Linked DNA regions of Homo sapiens: region 2 is linked to region 1. Evidence: promoter capture Hi-C in 16 types of primary human blood cells and fetal thymus (Javierre and others, 2016). All regions are on one chromosome and are shown on one strand. The core of a region is centred on a gene start or on the middle of the fragment in contact, and the rest is flanking DNA. Distances in the headings are between cores, read along the strand shown.

What was found. Contacts are between HindIII fragments. The CHiCAGO score rates a contact against its expected background, and 5 or more counts as called.
Region 2: a contact is called between the fragment with the promoter of F13B here and the fragment with the promoter of CFH in region 1, in 5 of 17 cell types (naive CD8 T cells, neutrophils, M2 macrophages and 2 more). The highest score is 10.8, in naive CD8 T cells.

What each region holds. Positions count from the first base shown.
Region 1 is chr1:196,649,223-196,655,523 of GRCh38, forward strand. CFH (complement factor H) reads left to right here and starts at 2,821. Exons shown (of 22, transcript NM_000186.4): 1 at 2,821-2,953. The coding sequence starts at 2,896. The HindIII fragment of the contact is 3,367 bases long and covers 331-3,697 here.
Region 2 is chr1:197,064,891-197,071,191 of GRCh38, forward strand. F13B (coagulation factor XIII B chain) reads right to left here and starts at 2,370. Exons shown (of 12, transcript NM_001994.3): 1 at 2,270-2,370. The coding sequence starts at 2,333. RefSeq lists an enhancer at 3,478-4,677. The HindIII fragment of the contact is 18,133 bases long and covers 1,619-6,301 here.

The DNA.
Region 1 (6,301 bases), core at 1,571-4,070:
AAAGATAACTAGAAAGCCAAAGTTCCCAGAAATTTACACTTTAGAAAAGTTTTAAAAATAAACTATTACAGTAAGAAGAGCTTGGTGATATAGACCCACACATATCCAGCACCTGACTTATGACAAAGGTGAAAGCATGTCAGTACAGAGGAAAGAATGATACTTTCGTTGAATAATGCTATAACAATTGGATATCTCTATTTTAAAAATGCATCTGGAGCTTTTTATTATGCTATACACAAAAGACAATTACAGTTGTTCTAAAGGTCTTAAATGTGAAAGATAAAATAATTCTTTTAGAAGAAAAGCATTGTGTTCTAGGACTAGGCAAGCTTTCATTAAATAGGACACATAATGCACTAGTCATAGAAAAAAATTGAAAATTTGCTCTATTTTAAAATTAAGGAATTCTTTTTATTATTATAAAAGACATGTAATACTGAATAGAAAGAAAACCCACAGACTGGAAGAAGGTATTTATAATACATATTAATAAGATTATTTTCATATCTAGAATATATAAGTAATTATATATAAACAGTTCCTACACTCCAATAAGTCAAAGACAAACAACTCAATAAGAAAAAAATATGCAAAGGATTTGAATAGAACCTTTACCAAAGAGGGTATCTAAATGACCAGTTACCACAGGAAAGTTTCTCAACTTCATGTTAAGGGCAGGAGACAGGGAAATACTGGGTAGAAGAGGGTGGTCCCCAAGCAAAGGCCCCACCCTCAAGCCTGAAGACCTGTGGCCCTAAATGAGGACAGGCATTTCAGGTTTCACACCCAAAAAGTTGCCTTTTGGCCCGCCATGCCCCGCTGTCGTACCCCCATATAAATCCCAAACTCCAAGCTCCAGAAGAGACCTACAAGTGAGGAGACGGAGAGGCAAGCCGACAAACAGGCCTGCGATGGCAGAATGACACAGCAGAGAAAGAGAGGAGGGACATCTGGACTCCGAGGGGAGTTTGGCCAGGGACGGGTGGAGAAGAGTCTGGCCACTGGGAGGCCTGACACTGGGCGAAGGTCACCTTCCCACTCCATCTTGCTGACAGCCACCTCCACCACTCAATAAAAAGTTGCCCTCATCCCTCGAGCCCCCGTGTGATCCGATTCTTTTGGGACACTGGGCAACAGCTGGGGATATAGAGGGCTATTTCACTGTCCCACTACCCATGAGATAAGGAAGAGGGTTTGTTGAGCTGATTAACACATAAACCATTTGCAGATGGCAAAGCTAAAGGAGCACACTGTAACATACGCCCACTTGGGCTTCGGAAATCGCAGACACCCACCCCTAGATGCTGCTGTGAGGCCAGAGCCCGAAAGCGCTCACTCCGGTTCCCGCACCGGTGCATCTGTGTGCTCCCCCTCCCCGTAAGGGGTTTGAGCTGCAGGGCGACCTAACTGGCAAGCCGCACACCTGTTGCATGTCCTTCAAGGGGAATCAGGGATCTCTCACATTTCAATTAGTCATCAGGAAAATTCATATTATAACCACGGAGAATTATTGCTTTGTGTTACCAGAAAAGCTAAAATTACAAGGATTAAAATTACCAAGTATCTCTGAGGGTATGGAGCAACTTGGACACTGCTGATAGAAATGTCAAGTGATGTCAAGTGTTATAATCCATTTGGAAAATTGTCTAATTTTATCCATTACACCTAAACATAAATTATGTCCCAGTGTTTCACTACCAAGTATGCACTTACCAGAAATGTGGATTGTGTTTACCAAAAACCTCATAATATAAGGCCCATAGCAGCACTATTCATACCAGCTCCAAACTAAAATCTGCTCAAATGCTCACTAACAGGCACACAGATAAATAAAATGTGAACTATTCAAAAAGTGGAGTATTAAATCGCAATAAGAATGAACTATCTGTAACTACATCTAACAATGTGTTTGAATGGTCCAAACACAATTTTTGGTGAAAAACTCTAAACATAAGAATAAACTGCTTCTTTTTCATTATACAAAGTACAAAAGCCAGACAAATATATTCCATGTTCTTGAAGATCAGAATCGTGGTCTCTGTGTGTGGGGGGTGTGGGAGAGGGTTGAGAGGCGTATTGACTGAAAAGGAGTACTGGGGTTTTCTGGGATGTAATAATGTTCAGTGTTTTGACCTTGGTGGTGGTTTCACAGGTATCTTTACCTTCTCAATATCCAGCATATGATTTATGTTTTCCTTATACATATTACACTACAATACAAAGTTTTAAAAATCAGCATTTCAATTTGTTGATTTTTGGATTATTAAACCTATTTACGTCAAATGAGAGTGAGCCAGTTGCTTCATACACATATACAAAAAGTATTTAGAAAACTAATTTCATAAATTGCTAGAAAAGCAGACCCCCAAATTCATCAAGCACTGCATTCTTGGCAAAGTTTGTACACATTGTCTGGGTGCTGATTGTGAAAACATTGCCTAAACCAAAGTTTTGTATGTGATTTCTTTTAAAGTTTCTCTTATTTCCTGTTCTGAGGTTTATACACAATAGACCCGAATAGAGTTTGAATAATTGAAGGGTTTATGAAATCCAGAGGATATCACCAGCTGCTGATTTGCACATACCAAGAACATGAACATTTTCCAACGGAGAATTTCCCTAGCTTAATAAGAAAAAGTCCAAGAGCCGGTCACAGCATTAACATTTAGTGGGAGTGCAGTGAGAATTGGGTTTAACTTCTGGCATTTCTGGGCTTGTGGCTTGTGGTTGATTTTTTATTTACTTTGCAAAAGTTTCTGATAGGCGGAGCATCTAGTTTCAACTTCCTTTTGCAGCAAGTTCTTTCCTGCACTAATCACAATTCTTGGAAGAGGAGAACTGGACGTTGTGAACAGAGTTAGCTGGTAAATGTCCTCTTAAAAGATCCAAAAAATGAGACTTCTAGCAAAGATTATTTGCCTTATGTTATGGGCTATTTGTGTAGCAGAAGGTAAGATTAAAAGAGACTCTTTTCTGAAAACTGTATTATGAAACATTTGCTAATGATGCTTTTCACAGGAGTAATAAAAATTTGATTTAGAAAATGTGCTTAAGTATTCTGTAACTTGACAATTGAGTGGCTTTTGACATTGTTGAGTTTAAAAAATGTAAGAACCTTATTTGAATGGTATATCTAAATATTCATCATAATTATATTTAATATAAAATAGAATAAAATGTTTTAATAAACATTTCTGAAAAACTATGATCTGGAATAATCATTTCCCTTGTAATTATCATAAAATGTAATTTACTTTTTTGCTTAGGAGTATAACCAAAATGTATTATGTGAAAGCATTAAGAAGGATGTGAATATACATAGTCAATAAAAGCCATCAAATCATAATGATTAGATTTATTTCAAATATGATTTTAACTCTTCCTAAATAAAAATTCATTTATCATTTACAACTGATATTGTCATGACCTTAGAATTCTTGTAGACAAGTATTACTTGTATTATCAGAATAAAAATATTATATAAATTTGAAACCCAATTGAATATACAATATTTGTAACAGTTAAGTTGTTCAATAGAGATTTTTTTCCTGTAGTTGTATATAACATATATTCTTGAAGAGCAGTCTTTTGGAGTAGTGAATATGAATGTAGGAGTTTTTTTCTGACCTCAGTAAGACAATTTCTGGATTCATAATAAAATTTAATTATATCACTGCTTCTTGATAGATTAAAAAGCTTATTCTTGGAGGAGGTTTGCTTTCCTAGTTTTTGATAGGTAACCAGTTATGTGATAGATATTTGGTAAACATTTTTAAACTGAATGAATTACATATTATTCATAATTTCTAAAATCTTTTCACTTAGTAAAGAAATTTTGATTGAGTGACCATTACATAGCCTCTAGGAACTGAAGAATATTAGCAAATAATACAAATCTCTGTTTCAGTCTTCCAATCTAGAAAATAAAAGCAGATATATTCTTATAGTTATACACTTTGGTAATTTAAAAAATATTCAAATATGTTTAATACCTTTTGAAAGGTTGAATTATTTTCAGTTATATTTTCTAATGTTATTGCTTGTTCTTTGGCTTGTAAACTTTATATGTAGCCACTTTTTAAATGAAGAAAACAATTATTTCCTTGTACATATAAATATTATAATTAGTATTTTAAAATGAAACCTTTTTGTATTTACAAACAGTTCCAGAACAATGTCAATATTACCTATTGTAAAAGACATCTTTTTCTGTTTCTTTGTGTAAATATTTCTGTCTTTTCTTACTAAATTTATGGGAATGTTTCTAACGTTTCATACCTACATACTGTTTGCTCCAGTTTTACATAGATACCATTTGTCATATAAGGGAGATTTGTTTTATTTCTAATCTTTAAAATCAAGAATCAATGGCAAGTTTAATAAACAGTTTAAGTTATTAAAAAGTTGAATTTGAAATATTATTAAAATAGAGTACATCAAAGTATATGTGATAATTAAACAATAGTGATTTAAACATCTTATTTACATAATTGATTATTGCTGACTTGTTTCACTTTTATTTTATTTTTCATCAATGTGTGTTTAAATGTGGTATCAGTTTCTACTGGTGAATTGAACATCGGCACTATATATGTTATGGTGAAAATGATATAAATCTGATTATTTCCTAAAAGATAAAGCACAACTTTGTATTTAAAGCAATGCTTAGGCCAGCCTCATAATTTTCATAAAAGCACATGTAATGCAAAAGCCAATGGAGAAAAACTACATGAATTTTCAGTGGATATCAGACTCCTAATTTATTCCTTGTTTCCCAAATACTCTCTGAAACTAAACTAGTTCGAGATGTCCATCAGTTCTATTAATCTACCATATCTAAAAAATTTTTACTTAACAGAGTAGCTTTGATCATGAAAAATACTCACATATATTTCAATATTTGCTTCTGTTTATATTTTCCACATTGAATACTGAATACCAAATTGAGAAGATAGTTTGAATACTATCACAATCTGCTTTATTCAACAGCATAACATTTTAGCATTACTTCTGCTCTGTTAAGAGTGAACTTTCTTCAAAAAAAACACTATTCATTACTAAGAAAGAATTATAGCCAGCAGGAATAATTTGTAATTTCAGCTTTCTATTTGTTTTCTTTTTTTAATATATTGGGTACTACATAGAACCTTTCTAATGCAATATATTGTCTACAATAACATTTCCAATTGTGTAGGAACGTTAATTGCCTCCTTGTTTTAACAGTCTGGCTCAGGGGGTCACTGCAGGCTACTAAGAATTGGGTCAGATTTACAGGACAAAGTTTAAAATAACAGTTTCTCAATCGTACCACCTAATTTCACCTTTTTGAAATATAGTATGACCAAGGTTTTGAATATATTATGACCAAGCAGATTTTTTAGATTTAGGGTCTAACAATTGTGTACTATATGAAATTAGGCCACAGCCCAGAAATTCCAAGATGATTAAAGTGAATAAATTAAAACTCTACTGAAACATGTTCAAGTAAATACTGGCTGTGTTGTTTGGGAGACATGTTTTTTAATCCTGGAGATTTAGAGTGCAGAAACGTTATTTCAGGTCCCAGAAGACTTTATAGATCAGAGATTGATGGATTCCATTACAGTCAGAGAAAGGAGAATAGTGGTCTAAAATCCTAAATTGTATGTTTGAATTTCAGTGTGATAAATAAGAATTCCCCTTTGCTCCCCCAAACCCCCATATTTTCAGAGATAGTAGTATGTGTATTTATCTATATGGTGTGATTTAAATTGTGCGATGGCCCAATTGGCTTCAATATCTCATCTCCTCCTAAAATACTTTACGTGTTGATATTAATATTACTATAATTTCAACCAATCTGTCATTTACATGGAATGACAAATACACTGAATACATATTTTAGGATAGTTAAATTTAGTATTATTCATAATTTACTTTGAATTATTATCATCTGACAACTTCCCTGAAACAATTTCAGTGGGCGGGGGAGGGTAGAAATGGATGTTGATGAGGATAAGAATAGAACAAAGTGATTCTGGAAGATGGGGTTTTCCCAGGTAGGACAGATCTGCTGGTTGAAGTGCTATAGTGAGTGCTATAAGAGAAGGGGTAGAGAAAATGCCCACAGAAATGGCACGAGCCTGAGACGTCTGCCAAGGCAAGCTTTGCTTATTTTAAATTTAGGCATATCCTGGGAATGCATATGCTACTCTTTTGCCTACATATAATTTAAACTAAAAATGAAATATCTAAGTATTGCTAACTAAAATTATTCTTAGGTAGAAGTAAGTTCCCAAATATAAGTTCAAAAGCAGAT
Region 2 (6,301 bases), core at 1,120-3,619, 420 kb after region 1:
CTACGGCTTCAATGCCTTGGTTGATCACTGTATACCTTAATGCTACTATGAGACATAAAATACTAGTAGTGCTAGCCTAGGTTTGAAGGAAATGGATGTGGAATGATGAGCAACAAAACTTCCACTATCTGATGGAGCAGACAGAAAAACATGGGCTGGATAGTCCCCATTCCTTGAGAATTATTCTCACCATTTTTTCACACCCAAGCACCAAAGGAATTTACAATAAAAAGAGTCTTCCAAAATAGCAGTGCAATGGTGAATACACAAGAAATTTCCCTGAGGGGCACAGTTGCTTGTCAGGGAGGGGCAGCAAAGTATTCTCTGCACAACAATCCTAGGTTGTGGCTTTAAAGACTCTCTGTCCTGGGACATCTCCCTCCACCACCAGGATAGGCACATTATTTGTTAAGGTAGCTGGAATGCCTTGGAGAATATGAATTCCTGACAAAAAATTAATGAGAAATGTGAGGAATATACTAATCACATATAAACCAGGAAATCACAGATGTCTGAACATATTAAAAAAAGTACATGAAGCGATGGACACACTTACTACTGATCAGAGAATGGTAAATAAATAAAAATGGGATATCACTTTATGAATAACCATATAGCAACCAGTACAAAAATGGACAATATGAGGTGTTGGTGAGAATGATGAGGAGCAACAATTTACATCCTCTCTCAGAGATGATATACTTCAAAACTGCCATTCTGCAAAAGTAATCTCTCATTACAGAAATCAAGTACAAGAATAGACTCAATAATGCTATCTGTGAGTGAATACAGACTGATGACATTCTTACAGAAAGATAAGTTGGTTATATTACAATATTCATTCCAGAGCTATTTGTGGTTGAGAGAGCTAGAGTAACATGTTAAAACATTGTAGTAGGTCCCAGGGGAAATGGACTTCAAGATTAGGAATAAGGGGATAAAATGTGTAAGTAAAGCAAGAGTGAGACCTTTCATAGGCCAATAATACTTGCATACCATGAAATGAGAAACACAATTAATTCAATTCTTGTCCCTGAAGTGCACAATGGGAGTTGAGAGAAGCATGCAAAAATAAAATCATTGTCTTGGTCTTCAAGCAGCTTACTTTTTTTTTTGTTGTGTAAAATAGCATTATAACCTTATAATAATTAGAAAATTAACTAGAATATTGCAATGTCTTTATGGTATAGATAACAGACAATTATATCTGCTGGTATTTCCCTATTTAGACAGAAAAATAAAATCAAAAGAAATTCATGCAAAAATCATCCTATTATAGAATTAAAAGTATAAAATAAGATTAATTCTGTGTCTTTCACTTTTATAATTTTAATTATAGATGTTTTGGTAGAAAATTTATAGTTAACTATTCAACTAAAACACAGTTAAAACTTATGTATTTAATTTCAACAAATTCCCAAAAATGTTTATTTTAGAAAAGCTGTATTGCTGTAGCTTCCTTCTTTGTATGTTCACTCTTGCTAATGCTAAGTGTCCTCCCTGGATTCTTCATCCTATGGCCTGATAATATTGATAATGTTCCTGAACAACATACCCATGTACACTGCCTAGCTTCCACTCGCACACTAATCTTACACATTGGGCAATCTGACTATAAAGCTTTCTAATAGGGAGTCCATAGGTATTGGTTTGTTTGGAAAGTCCTGATTTACATGTGTTGTCCAAACAGTTATTAATAGAGCCCCTCTTTTACTCTCTAAGTGTCCCTGTTTGTACAAGCAATTATATGGTTCACCTACTAATCACTACTTAATGTCTCCAACAAATGAATAATTCATTGTGATAAAAATCAAAGTCTCAAAAGTAAAAAATATTTATGGCTATTTCCTTTTCAAATTTCCCACATTAAACTCTCACCTTATGAACAGAATTAAAATTGTACAAGTTTTGTCAGTATTAGGAATGGATTCTAGCATAAATTTAGAATTAAAGTTAACATGTGACTTCGAAATGGACATATTGTTAACCTGAAAACCTTTTCGAAGTATTTAGATCCTGGTCTCCTATGCCCCCTAGAGATACAAGGGTTTTTGTTTTGTTTTGCTTTTCTGACTTATGCTACTGTAAGAACACTTTACTAATTTTGCTCAAAGGAAAAGGTCTAAATATTATAAAAAGTTATATTTATAAAATATGTTATAAAATTGATAATGAAAATAGAAGAGTATATTAAAACTTGAGTTGTATAAATATTAGAATCTCCATTTGTATGTTTTAGAGAATAAAGAATATTAAGAATTAATTTTACCTTCTGCATAGAGTTCTCCTGAGATTATCAATATGATGATAAAAGTCAGGTTTTTCAACCTCATCTTCAGTGGTGTGCTTCACAAAGATTTTAACAATTCTAAGCACTAGGAACTTGTCATTAAGTACACAATACTTCTCTTGAGGAAAAAGTTAATAATTTATAACCTCTGTCTAAGTCCTTTTGTAACGAGTCTTATATTTCACTTAAAATATTTTGAAATAATGTTAAAATAACACAACTATATTAATTGACATTACTTACCATGTCAGAGTCCAGTAAGAGCATGATAACTGATTAGGGCAACAATAGCAGCAGAATAAATAATAAATTATAGCAGCAGAATAAATAATACTAGGTAAATTTTCAACCTAAGTTCCCAATTGTAAATTCATAGAGTAAAGTTCACTTGAGGCCATAGATCTTTACTAATATTGATCAGGTAAAAAGATGAACTTAGGAACATGAGATAACAGATACCTGATGTTGAAATATGTTGTTGCCTAGACTGCACTCCTTAAAGAGATACAGAACCATAGTTGTCTCAATGATAGAATAGTATTACTTATAATAGTAGTGTTTGACATTTAGAGAGTTTTTACTTTGTGGCAGGTGGTGAGATCAGCACTGTGCTATATCAACATTCATTCATGAGAAATGTTTAGAACGTCCATGATAATGGCAGCACATGTAACAGTTTTGAGGTATTTAGCAGTGAAAAAACTGGATTAAAATTATTGCCCTCATGGAGTTTACATTCTAATGAGTTTTAATTTAAAATACAAAATAGGAAAAAATGGTGGATAGGAGGCAGGACTAACTTGCAGCTCCCACTTGGATGGACAGAGCAGGATGTGGAGACTCGCATTGTGAACTTTTGCTCCAAGAACTGCTGCAAGGATATAACAGGAAAGCCAAGATAATCCACAGACCCTCTGAAGAAAGTATATTGCTCCTGCATGACCCAGAAAATAGCCCACATACTGTGAATGCCCAAACTGTGAAAAGTGTGAAAGGGGTATTGTCCACCCCTGAACACACACCCTTGGGGAACCTGAAGGTCTAGATCACAGGAGAAGGATTTGACCTTACCTGGAGCTCAGACAATTTAGAGAGCTGAGCGAAATACAGGGGTAGAGGAAGCAAAGGGTAAAGCCCCATCGTCTCTGTGGGTCCCCAGAGAAGCCATTTCTGACTTGTCTCACAGGGGCTGCCGGAGGAACTGGGAAAAGACCACAGGGAGAAGGAAACCTCCAGCTGAACTTAGTAACAATTCCAACCGAACACAAACTTTCCTGTCCAGAACTCAGGAAAGGGCGTGAATCTGGTGTGCAGACTTAACAGGTAGGGAGGCACAAAAGTCTGGCTTGCATTCTCAGCTGGGAGGCTAGTAGCCTGGGGCAAGTTCTCAATCCTGCTCCCCTACTGCCTGGAAACAAATTCGGTGCTTTTTGGGGGAACACAGTAGAAGTGAGATTTGCTTGTTGGGTTGTGTGAGAGCTGGGTGAGGTCTGTAACTGCCAGCTTTCCCCCACTTCCCTGACAACCTGCATGACACAGAAGAGGCAGCCATAATCCTCCTGGGAAGGTAACTCCATTAACCTGGGAATCACACCCCCATTCCCCACAGAGCCACAACAAGCCCCACCCAAGAAGACTCTGAGCTCAGACATGCCTAACCCTGCCCCCACCTGATGGTCCTTCCCTACCCACCCTGGTAGCTGAAGACAAAGGTCATATTCTCTTGGAAGTTCTAGTGTCCCACCCACCACCTGATCCTCCCCTATATACCACAGCTGATGCTCTCATGAAAGCACTACCTCATGGCAGTGTGTCTGGAATTGGTTCCTTCCAATGGGTTCTTGGTCTTGCTGACTTCAAGAATGAAGCTGCGGACGCTTGCGGTGAGCATTACAGTTTTTAAAGATGGTGTGTCCGGAGTTTGTTCCTCTGATGTTCAGATGTGTCCAGAGTTTCTTCCTTCTGGTGGGTTCCTGGTCTTGCTGACTTCAGGAGTGAAGCCGCAGACCTTCACAGTGAGTGTTACAGCTCTAAAAGATGGTGCGTCCGGAGTTGTTTCTTCCTCCTGGTGGGTTCGAGGTCTTGCTGACTTCAGGAGTGAAGCCACAGACCTTCGCGGTGAGTGTTACAGCTCATAAAGGTAGTGCAGACCCAAAAAGAGAGCAGCAGCAAGATTTATTGCAAAGAGCGAAAGAACAAAGTTTCCACAGCCTGGAAGGGGACCAGACCAGGTTGCTGCGGCTGGCTCGGGTGGCCAGCTTTTATTCCCTTATTTGGCTCCGCCCACATCCCGCTGATTGGCACATTTTACAGAGTGCTGGTTGGTCTGTTTTTACAAAGTGCTGATTGGTGCATTTACAAACCTTTAGCTAGACACAGAGCGCTGATTGGTGTGTTTACAATCCTTTAGCTAGACAGAAAAGTTCTCCAAGTCCCCATTCGACCCAGGAAGTCCAGCTGGCTTCACCTCTCAGCAGGAGGCCAACCAGCACCAAACTAGTGCATCAAACAACTACAACTAAGGACCCTCACAGAGTTCCTTTCACTCCCCTGCCACCTCTACTGGAACAGGTGCTGGTATCCATGACTGAGAGAACTGAAGACAGTTTACATCACAGGACTCTATGCAGACAACCCCCAGTACCAGCCCAGAGCCTGGTAGCCCTTCTGGTGGCTAGATCCAGAAAAGTAATAATAATCACTACAGTTTGGCTCTCAGGAAGTCACATCCCTAGGAAAAGGGGGAGAATACTACATCAAGGGAGCACCCCGTGGGACAAAAGAATCTGAACAGCAGCCTTGAGCCCCAGATCTCCCCTCTGACATAGCCTACCCAAAAGAGAAGGAACTAGAAAAACAATTTTGGTATTATGACAAAACAAGGTTCTTTAACACCACCCAAAAATCACACTAGCTCATCAGCAATGGATCCAAACCAAGAAGAAATTCCTGAACTGCCAGAAAAAGAATTCAGAAGTTTGATTATTAAGCTAATCAAGGAGGCACCAGAGAGAGGTGAAATCCAACTTAAGGATATCAAAAAAATGACACAAGATATGAGCGGAGAAATCTTCAGTGAAATAGATAGCATAAATAAAAAACAGTCACAACTTCAAGAAATAAAGAACACACTTAGAGAAAAGCAAAATGTACTGGAAAGTCTCAGCAATATAATAAAACAAGCAGAAGAAAGAACTTCAGAGCTTGAAGACAAGGTTTTCGAAGTAATCCAATCCAAAAAAGACAAAGAAAAAAATTTAAGTGAATAAAGCCTCCAAGAAGTTTGGGATTATGTTAAATGACTAAACCTAAGAATAATTGGTGTTCCTGAGGAAGAAGAAAAATCTGAAAATTTGGAAAACATATTTAGGGAAATAATTGAAAAAAAAAAACTTCCCTGGCCTTGCTAGAAATCTAGCCATCCATACACAAGAAGCTCAAAGAACACTTGGGAAATCATCATAAAAATATCATTACGGCCGGGCACAGTGGCTCATGCCTGTAATCCCAGCACTTTGGGAGGCCGAGGGAGGTGGATCATGAGGTCAGGAAATCAAGACCATCTTGGCCAAAATGGTGAAACCCTGTCTCTACTAAAATACAAAAAAAAAAAAAAAATTTAGCTGGGCATGGTGGCATATGCCTGTAACCCCAACTACGTGGGAGGCTGATGCACGGCAATTGCTTGAACCCAAGAGGTGGAGGTTGCAGTGAGTTGAGATCGTGCCACTGCACTCCAGCCTGGCGACAGAGCAAGACTCCATCTCAAAAAAAAAAAAAAAAGATTATTGCAGCTAAGTGTGGTGGCTTATGCCTGTAATCTCAACACTTTGGGAGGATGAGGTGGGCAGATCACGAGGTCAAGAGATCAAGACCGTCTTGGCCAACATGGTGAAACCCCATCTTTACTAAAAATACAAAAATTAGCTGGGCGTGGTGCCATGCCTGTAGTCCTAGCTACTCAGGAGGCTGAGGCAAGAGAATCACTTGAAGCCAGGAGGCAGAGGTTGC